Linked DNA regions of Homo sapiens: region 2 is linked to region 1. The links are contacts of gene promoters, found by promoter capture Hi-C in human tissues and cell types (Jung and others, 2019). All regions are on one chromosome and are shown on one strand. Each heading gives the region's core, a stretch centred on a gene start or on the middle of the fragment in contact. The rest is flanking DNA. Distances are from core to core; before and after follow the strand shown. Region 1 holds the start of SMPDL3B (sphingomyelin phosphodiesterase acid like 3B). Region 2 holds the start of TAF12 (TATA-box binding protein associated factor 12).

Evidence for each region. The method cuts DNA at HindIII sites, captures the fragments that hold promoters and counts their contacts. A contact is called where the count stands out against the background at its distance.
Region 2: a contact is called between the fragment with the promoter of TAF12 here and the fragment with the promoter of SMPDL3B in region 1, in 1 of the 25 tissues and cell types used here (heart right ventricle).

Annotation. Positions count from the first base shown.
Region 1 is chr1:27,932,535-27,937,061 of GRCh38, forward strand. SMPDL3B (sphingomyelin phosphodiesterase acid like 3B) reads left to right here and starts at 2,466. Exons shown (of 8, transcript NM_014474.4): 1 at 2,466-2,710. The coding sequence starts at 2,650. RefSeq lists an enhancer at 2,100-3,001 and a silencer at 2,328-2,593. The HindIII fragment of the contact is 15,081 bases long and covers 1-4,527 here.
Region 2 is chr1:28,640,581-28,645,107 of GRCh38, forward strand. It overlaps TAF12 (TATA-box binding protein associated factor 12), which reads right to left and starts at 2,487. Exons shown (of 6, transcript NM_005644.4): 1 at 2,412-2,487. TAF12-DT (TAF12 divergent transcript) reads left to right here and starts at 2,676. Exons shown (of 2, transcript NR_146730.1): 1 at 2,676-3,183. RefSeq lists a silencer at 4,037-4,331. The HindIII fragment of the contact is 16,599 bases long and covers 1-4,527 here.

The DNA.
Region 1 (4,527 bases), core at 1,216-3,715:
GGATACCCTCCTCCCCAGCTTTCTCCTTTTCCTGCTAACTCCTACTTGTAAATTAAGGTTAAGCTGGTGGGACAACCATATCTTACGTGCTTTGCCATGCAAAACAACAGGAAAGACCCAAGACCACCTGAGAAGTCTTCTTCCCCAAAAGTCAAACCTGAATGTCATCAAACCCTTGGCTGTAACTATCAGTTTACAGGAAATATGGGGGACAGAGGAATATGTTAAATGACACCACCAGAAAGGAATCAGCCAAATCCTCCAGAATGTGGGAAATTCACAGGACAAAGAACAAGGAAAAAATGGGGAGAGGGCAGGAGAGCTACAAATTAAGGGAGACTTAAGAGACACATCTACCAAATGCAATGTGTGGACCTTGTTTGGACCCTGATTTGAAAGAACCCGCTGTAAAAAAAAAAAAAAAAAAAAAGAGACATCAGGGAAATTTGGTGACATCAGGGAAACTGACCACATATCTGCCTGGTGGAAGTAAGGAATTACTGTTTTTCTTTTTCTTTCTTTTTTTTTTTGAGGTGGAGTCTCGCTCTGTCGCCCAGGCTAGAGTGCAGTGGCACTATCTCGGCTCACTGCAAGCTCCGCCTCCCGGGTTCAAGTGATTCTCCTGCCTCAGCCTCCCAAGTAGCTGGGATTACAGGTGTGAGCCACCACGCCTGGTGGAATTACTATTTTTTTTTTTAGATCTGATAATGTGTTAGAAAAAGAGAGTCCTAGCCGGGTGCAGTGGCTCACGCCTGTAATCCCAGCACTTTGGGAGGCCAAGTTGGGCAGATCACCTGAGGTTGGGAGTTTGAGACCAGCCTGACCAATATGGAGAAACCCCATCTCTACTAAAAATACAAAATTAGCCAGGTGTGGTGGCGCATGCCTGTAATACCAGCTACTCGGGAGGCAGAGACAGGATAATCACTTGAACCCGGGAGGCCGATTTTGCGGTGAGCCGAGATCCTGCCATTGCACTCCAGCCTGGGCAACAAGAGTGAAACTCCATCTCAAAAAAAAAAAAAAAAAGAAAGAAAGAAAAAGAGAATCCTTACCTTTTAGAGATAAATACTGTTTACGTTCAAGATGATATGATCACTGGAATTTAACATCATACAGTGAGGGCCAGGTATGATAGCTCACACCTGTCAGCCCAGTGCTTTGGGAGGCTGAGGTGGGAGGATCACTTGAAGCCAGGAGTTTGGGACCAGCCTGAGTAATGTAGTGAGATGCTGTTTCTAAAAAAAAAAAAAAAAAAAGCCAGGTGAGGTAGCGAGTGCCTATAGTTCCAGCTATTCCAGAGGTTGAAGCAGGAAGATAGGAAGATAGCTTGAGTCCAGGAGCTCGAGGCTGCAGTGAGCTATTATTATCTTGCCACTGCACTCTAGCCTGGGTGGCAGAGTGAGACAACCCCCTTCTTTTTTTTTTTTTTTTTTTTTTTTGAGACAGAGTCTTGCTCTATCACCCAGGCTGGAATGCAATGATGCAATCTTGGCTTACTGCAACTTCTACCTCCCAGGCTCAAGGGATCCTCCTGCCTCAGCCTCCCAAGTAGCTGGACTATAGACATGTATTACCATGCCCAGCTAATTTTTTTATTTTTTGTAGAGATGGTGTTTCACTATGTTGCTCAGGATGGCCTCAAACTCCTGGGCTCAAGCGATCCTCCTGCCTTAGCCTACCAAAGTGCTGGGATTACAGACATGAGCCACTGCACCCAGCCTGAGACACTTCTCTAAAAAAATACATAAATAAATAAAAGTTAAAATAATAAAAAATTTTAAAAGTTGTTTAAATAGGGCCGGGCGCGGTGGCTCATGCCTGTAATCCCAGCACTTTGGGAGGCCGAGACGGGTGGATCACAAGGTCAGGAGATCGAGACCATCCTGGCTAACACAGTGAAACCCCGTCTCTACTAAAAATACAAAAAAATAGCCGGGCGTGGTGGCGGGCGCCTGTAGTCCCAGCTACTCGGGAGGCTGAGGCAGGAGAATGGTGTGAATCCGGGAGGCAGAGCTTGCAGTGAGCTGAGATGGTGCCACTGCACTACAGCCTGGGTGACAGAATGAGACTCCGTCTCAAAAAAAAAAAAAAGTTGTTTAAATACATAAAATAATCAAAAGTGAGTATAGATGAAATAAGAGTGGCCATAAGTTCATAATTACTGAAGCTGGAGGAAGGTACTTGGGGGTTCATTACACCATTCTCTCTCCTGTTTCTGTTTGACTGTTTCCATAATACAATGTTAAGAAAGGATTAAACGTGTCACCCCCTCCTAGAAGCCCTCTCACATTCCTCAGTCTGAATTAGATCCCCCTTTCCGGGGCTTGCCAATACACCTGATGTGCTGACCGGCAATTCTGTTGTTTGCCCCTCCCTCTTGGGGGCAGGGGCTGCACTGGCAGGAGAGGTGTGGCTTCCACTTAAGGGTCCGGTATGCCTGCCTCCTCGGGCCAGCCCAGATCATACCCTGCTGGGCAAAGGAGGAAGAGCCAGAGGATCCAGACGCCTTGGAGGACTTGGAACACCTGTAACAGGACAAGGAGTTCTGCTCAGGCACGTGGCCACAGAAAACTACTTAGGAAGCCTGTGGTGAGAACAACAACAGTGCCTGAGAATCCCACGGCTCTGGGGAAGTGAGCCCCGAGGATGAGGCTGCTCGCCTGGCTGATTTTCCTGGCTAACTGGGGAGGTGCCAGGGCTGAACCAGGTACAGCACTGGGAATGTCTGCTATGCCTTTGTTTTGTACTGTGAACTCTGGGGCTGCGGGAAGCTGCTCGCAGCCAGCTTGAAGGTGCTTCTAAAGATAGCAAGGCAGGAGCTAGGCAGGGAGGCAGGTGGGGAGAGCTAGTGGGCCTTAGCAAGTGCTGTTTGAGGCTGAAGATTTTAAGTGGAGGCGCCAGCTGGCCAGGGAGGGACACCGACATTGCGAAGAGGTCTGGGTACGTGAGAGCTAGCTAATTAGTAGAGGTAGGAGGTGGCAGGAAAGATTCGTGGACTCATTCAACAAATGAGGTCCTTTCCTGTACCATACGTTATTCTAGGAGCCAGGGATATATCAGAGAAGAAAAGAAAGTCCCCGTCTCAATGAAGAATTCCTTCATCTGGGGAGAAAAAAACAAACCACACGAACAAGTAAAGTACGCAGCATTGGAGGAGATGATAAGTGTTATGGGGAAAATAAAGTAGAACAGGGAAGGCGGGTTGTGGGGAGGGGGTACTTACAAGACGTCCAGAGAAGAGCTGTCAAATCAGGTGACACTCAAGTGGAGCCTTGAGGCAGTGAGTGGGGGAGCCACATGGGTGTCCAGAACATTACAGGAAGAGAGGACAGTGCACGGGGTCTGAGGTGGACACACAGGAGATGTGCATGAGGAACAGCAAGGAAGCCCGCGTGGCTGAAGCAGGGTGGGCAGGACAAGTGGGGGTGAGGTTGGCAGATGGTGGGGTGGGGCAGGTGCCAAATCATGGATAGCCTCGAAGACTCTCTTGAGGACTCAGACATTTTTCTTTCCACGTGCCTGTAGATAGGAAGGACGCAGGCTTTTGCTCAGGGTGAAATGGGATGTCATTGGAGGGTTCTAGGCACAGGTGTAATCTATTCTGACTTCTGTATGTTTAAAAGGACCCTTGAGGCCAGACGCAGTGGCTAACATCTGTAATCCCAGCACTTTGGGAGGCTGAGGAGGGTGGATTGCTTGAGTCCAGGAGTTTGAGACCAGCCTGGGCAACATAGCAAAACCCTGACTCTACTAAAAATACCAAAAATTAGCTGGGTGTGGTAGTGGGTGCCTGTAGTGCCAGCTACTTGGGAGACTCAGCTGGGAGAATTACCTGAGCCTGGGAGGTTGAGGCTGCAGTGAGCTGTGATTGTGCCACTGCACCCCAGCCTGGGTGACGGGAATGAGACCATCTCAAAAAAAAAAAAGAAAATGAAAGAAAAAAATTCTCTTTATAGCCCCTCTGAAGTAGGTGCTAATATCATTATACCCATTTTGCAGATGAGGCAAATGAGTCTCAGAGGGGACATTGCACTTGCTGAAGATCTCCCAGCTGGGAAATGGCAGGACAAAGCCTGTGCCTGGCTGTACTATGCTTCATGTCCTCTTGGGATGGTGGGGTTTAGAGGTACTATTTTTTTCTCTTTTCTCCAAACTTGCTGGAATGTATTCCTTTTAAAGTAAATTTAAAAGGAATTCCGGGCCGGATGCGGTGGCTCACGCCTGTAATCCCAGCACTTTGGGAGGCCGAGGCGGGCGGATCACGAGGTCAGGAGATTGAGACAATCCTGGCTAATACGGTGAAACTAAAAATACTCTACTAAAAGTACAAAAAATTAGCCAGGCGTGGTGATGAGCACCTGTCGTCCCAGCTACTTGGGAGGCTGAAGCAGGAGAATGGGGTAAACCCGGGAGGTGGAGCTTGCAGTGAGCCGAGATTGCACCACTGCACTCCAGCCTGGGCGACAGAGTGAGGCTCCGTCTCAAAAAACAAACAAACAAACAAACAACAACAAAAAAAGGAAT
Region 2 (4,527 bases), core at 1,237-3,736, 710 kb after region 1:
GATAGTGCATAAGCTGTGCCTCGTTAGTCTGAGTAGGTTTCAGAAAAAGATATTAATATTGAAGGAAGTGACTGGTGCAAGTCTCCCCACCATCCTTATCCAAAAGCAGCCATCCCTAGTAAATGTTTGCACTAAAAATACAGGACACACTTATTTATGACTTTCCAAACAGCTTATTAAATAAATAAATAACACTGAGCTTTATTTAAAGGTTCCAGCCAGGTGCAGTGGCTCATGCCTATAAGAACATTTTGGGAGGCCAAGGCGGGAGAATCATTTGAGGCCAAGAATTCAACAGCAGCCTAGGCAACACAGCCAAACACTGTCTCTACAAAAAAACTTAAAAATTAGCTGGGTGTAGTGGCTCATACCTGCAGTCCCAGGAGGCTGAGGCAGGAGGAGTGCTTGAGCCCAAGAATATAGGTTGCAGTGAACTATGATTATGCCACTGCACTCCAATATGGGCAACAGAACAGGACCCTGTCTCAAAAACACAAAAATAAAAATAAAGGTTTCCTTACTATTAAGTGACATTTACTGTATTAATGTCAATACAGTAACAACACTCAAATTATCAGAAACTGTAAAAATTTCCAGTTTTTACTGGAAATAAAAACTGGGCCGGGCGCAGTGGCTCATTTCTATAATCCCAGCACTTCGGGAGGCTGAGGCGGGCGGATCACTTGAGATCAGGAGTTCGAAACACAGCCTGGCCAACATGGCAAAAACCTGTCTCTACTAAAAATACAAAAAGTAGCCGGGCATTGTGGCACACACCTGTAATTCCAGCTACTTGAGAGGCTGAGGCAGGAGAATCGTTTGAACTGGGGAAGCAGAGATTGCAGTGAGCCGAGATCGTGCCACTGCACTCCAGCCTGGGTGACTCTGTCTCAAAAAAACAAAACAAAACAAAACAAAAACAAAAACTGCAAGGGGGGTGAGGTGACTCATGCCTGTAATCCCAGCACTTTGGGAGGCCAAGGTGGGAGGATCACTTGAGCTTAGGAGTTTGAGACCAGCCTGGGCAATATAGTGAGACCCTGTTTCTACAAAAAATTTAAAAATTAGCAGGGCGTGGTGGCACACGCCCGTAGTTCCAGCTACTCAGGAGGTATAGGTGGGAAGACTGCTTGAGCCTAGGAGGTTGGAGGTGCACGGGGCCAAGACTGAGCCGCTGCACTTCAGACTGGGCGACAGAGAGAGAACCTGTCTCAAAAAAAAAAAAAAAAAAAAAATTCCCTCCTGAGTTTGAAGATAAAGCAAAGATTCTAGAAGCATTTAAGGAACATTAACCAAGCATCTCATTTGCTACGCACAGAAGGGTACTGTATTAAAATTATGATCTAACTAACCATTGCCTCACTGTAATCCTAAGCCTCTTTGAACCTTAGCCTTCTTAAATGTAAAATAGGAGTTTTTAAAAGATGATCTTTTGGGACTCTTCCATCACTGACATTCTTTTATTTGAGATGCAGAGATCTGTGCTCATTCAGGGTTGAGTGGAATGGGATTTAAAGCACTTATCAAGTACATAACTGAGTTCCAACTGTTTTCAACTTCACATCTGATTCCCAAGAATGAAGCAGAAAATGAAGATGTTTGCATATGGGCTTCCTAGATTGAGTATCTGACACAAGAAAAGCTTGCCAAGAGCCAAGTAGGCAGTGCGAAGGAGAAGTTGTCTTCCCCTGAATACGTCCTTTATCTCTCTGGGTTCAGGGAATACTGTGAAAAAATGGATCACTAAATCTTTTCCAAACCCTTTCCCTTTACTTTGTAGGCTGATCTCATATCCATGGTCCCTTAGATCCAAGGCTTTTAGGAGCTTGGGTACTCACAGCCCTGTTCCGAGACTCAGGAACTCGGAGTCTCAAAGCCCGGATCCCGTCCCCAAAGAAGCCCCAGTCTTCACTGCCCGCTTCTGTTCCCTTCCAAACTCAAGTTTTCTCTGTCTGCTTCTGCCCCTCAGGAACCTAAGTCTTCGCTGCCCCGTTTCTGAATCCTTAGGAGCCCGGGTCTTCACTGTCCCGCTTCTGCCTCTTAGGAGCCCAAGTCCTCACCGCTCCACTTTTACCTCTCCGGAGCCTGTGTCTTCACGCCCCGTTCCTTTCTGACCCTTTCCTCGTAGGAGTGCGGGTCCTCATAATCCTGCTCCTCTCAGACCACTTTCCCTCAGATGCCGGAGAACTCGCATCCGTCCCCGTTCCCTAAGTCCCGTCTTAGAGCCCGGGTCCCCACAGCCGCGTCTTCTCCGAGCCTGATCCTCTCAGTCAGTCCCTTCCCAAGAGCCTGAATCCTCACAGCCCCGTCTCGTCCACAACCTGGTCCTTCGAACACTGACCCACTGTAGGTCTGGGTCCTGACTCCCTCCTCCCGCTCTTGTTCCTCAACTGCCAGGGCCCAAGACTCACAGGCAGCAGCGTCTATCTCCCCATGATATGCAGAGACTGCCCCAGTGAAGCGTTCGTCTCAGCAGCCGGTCCGACTGCGCGGCCCTCCCCGACTACTTCCGGCACCGCTCCCCGCCTCCAACCCGGAAACGCGCGGCTCTTCCGGCCGGCGGGCGCGCGCCTCGCTTGCGCAGGCGCAGACTGCCCTCCGACACGTGGTGGCGATATTGAGCTGTGTGTAGGTACACCCTGCAGCTTGCGCTTTTAACTGCTTGTGGTTGAGTGGCAGCATGAGCGAGCTCTGCGTATTCCAACCCGGCGTTAAGAATCCTTCACTAGCTTTTCTTCCCGACGCTGCTTATTTATCTATCGGTAGCATGACGGGTAATTGACGCCCTCGGATGGCTTTGAGGTCGCCATTTTTGGTTGGTGCCTTTGTCTTGGTGTCAGGACTGGGATATCATCTGGGACACATTACCCCACAGGTATCCTGTTGGACCTCAACGAGGAAGTTGGCAACAGAGGAACCAGGAGATGAGAGAGATCGGTTGGTTGTGCCTGTGAACTGGCAATTCAGTAGTAACAATTGAGTGCTTACTGTTTGCCGGGAATTGTGCTAATCCGCTTACCTCCGTTACGCCATTTAATCATTTAGAGGAGACCTGTGAGAGATTAAGCAAAGTTCTAGCTAATAAGTGCAGAGCCTCAGCTTGAACTCAGAACTCACTACTAAGCCAAAGCCTGTCCTGTAGCATTCTCTAATGCTTTCAGTTTTTCGGCTGTCAGATGCTTGGTGAGAACTGCTGTTATGTGGCTCACGCCTGTAATCCCAGCACTTTGGGAGGCCGAGGAGGGTGGATCACGAGGTCAAGAGTTCAAGACCAGTCTGGCCAAGATGGTGAAACCCCGTCTCTACTAAAAATACAAAAAATTAGCCGGGCGTGGTGGCATGCGCCTGTAATCGCAGCTACTCCGGAGGCTGACGCAGAGAACTGCTTAAACCTGGAGGGGCGGAGGTTGCAGTGAGCCGAGATCGCGCCACTGCACTCCAGCCTGGGCGACAGAGCGAGACTCTGTCTCAAAAAAAAAAAAAAGAGAACAGCTGTTATTTTTTACTGTATGCTGGAATGTTAGGCATGCAAGTAAGACCCAATTCCAGCATCTGTAAGGTTCACAGTAAGATGGAGAAGAACCCACAAACACACCAAAAATTGTATAAAGAGCTGTGACAGGCCAGAGTGAGCCACATAGAAATTAGGAAGAGGTGCCCAGATTGGTGCGGCATCCTGCCCTGTCTTTATATCTTCCTAATCCTCATCCTACCACGTTCCCAGTCCACCCTCTACACTGCCACCCAATCCAAATTCTCAGATTCAAGTCCTCATGAACATTGGGCTCTAAGCTGTATTCCTAGCCTTATTTCCTTGCCACTGCTCTCCATTCTTTTTAGGGTCCGGCATACCACTTTTTGTTGTTGAATGCCTATACATCTTTTTTAAGACCCAGGTTGAATGTATATACGTTCATTTGACAAGTGTTTGAGTCTCATTGTGTGACAAGCCTTTTGCTATGTGCTGAGTACATAACTGGTGGCTAAGACGGATGATCTCTGTCCTTAGAAAGTTTGCAACCTAGAGTGGGAAACAGACCATTAGCAACTGCACAAAAGGGTGATAGAAGAGAATACTGGAATAAGCCAGACTTATCTAGCTGGCTGATGGCCTGAGCCATGGTCTTCAGTAAGGAAAACACTTACTCAAGGACCAAGATGGCCAAGGTGGCTGGAGCTTTGGTAACCGGGAAAGACAATGAGTTTGGAGAGGTAGGCAGGGGTTTGTTATAGTCTGGACCTTTTAGCCTAGACTATGATGGGGACTTGAGATTATATTCAGTATGCAATGGGAAGGTGTTGGAAGAACGGTGAAATTATGGCGATTGTTAAATGATACAGGGTCTCACTCTGTCACCAGGGCTAGAGTGCAGTGGCACAATCATAGTTCACTACAGCCTCAAACTCCTGTGTTCAAGCGATCCTCCTCCACCTCAGCTTCCCAAGTAGATGAATTTTCTTTTTTTTTTTTTTGAGACGGAGTCTCGCTGTTTCACCCAGGCCGGACTGCAGTGGAGCTATCTCGGC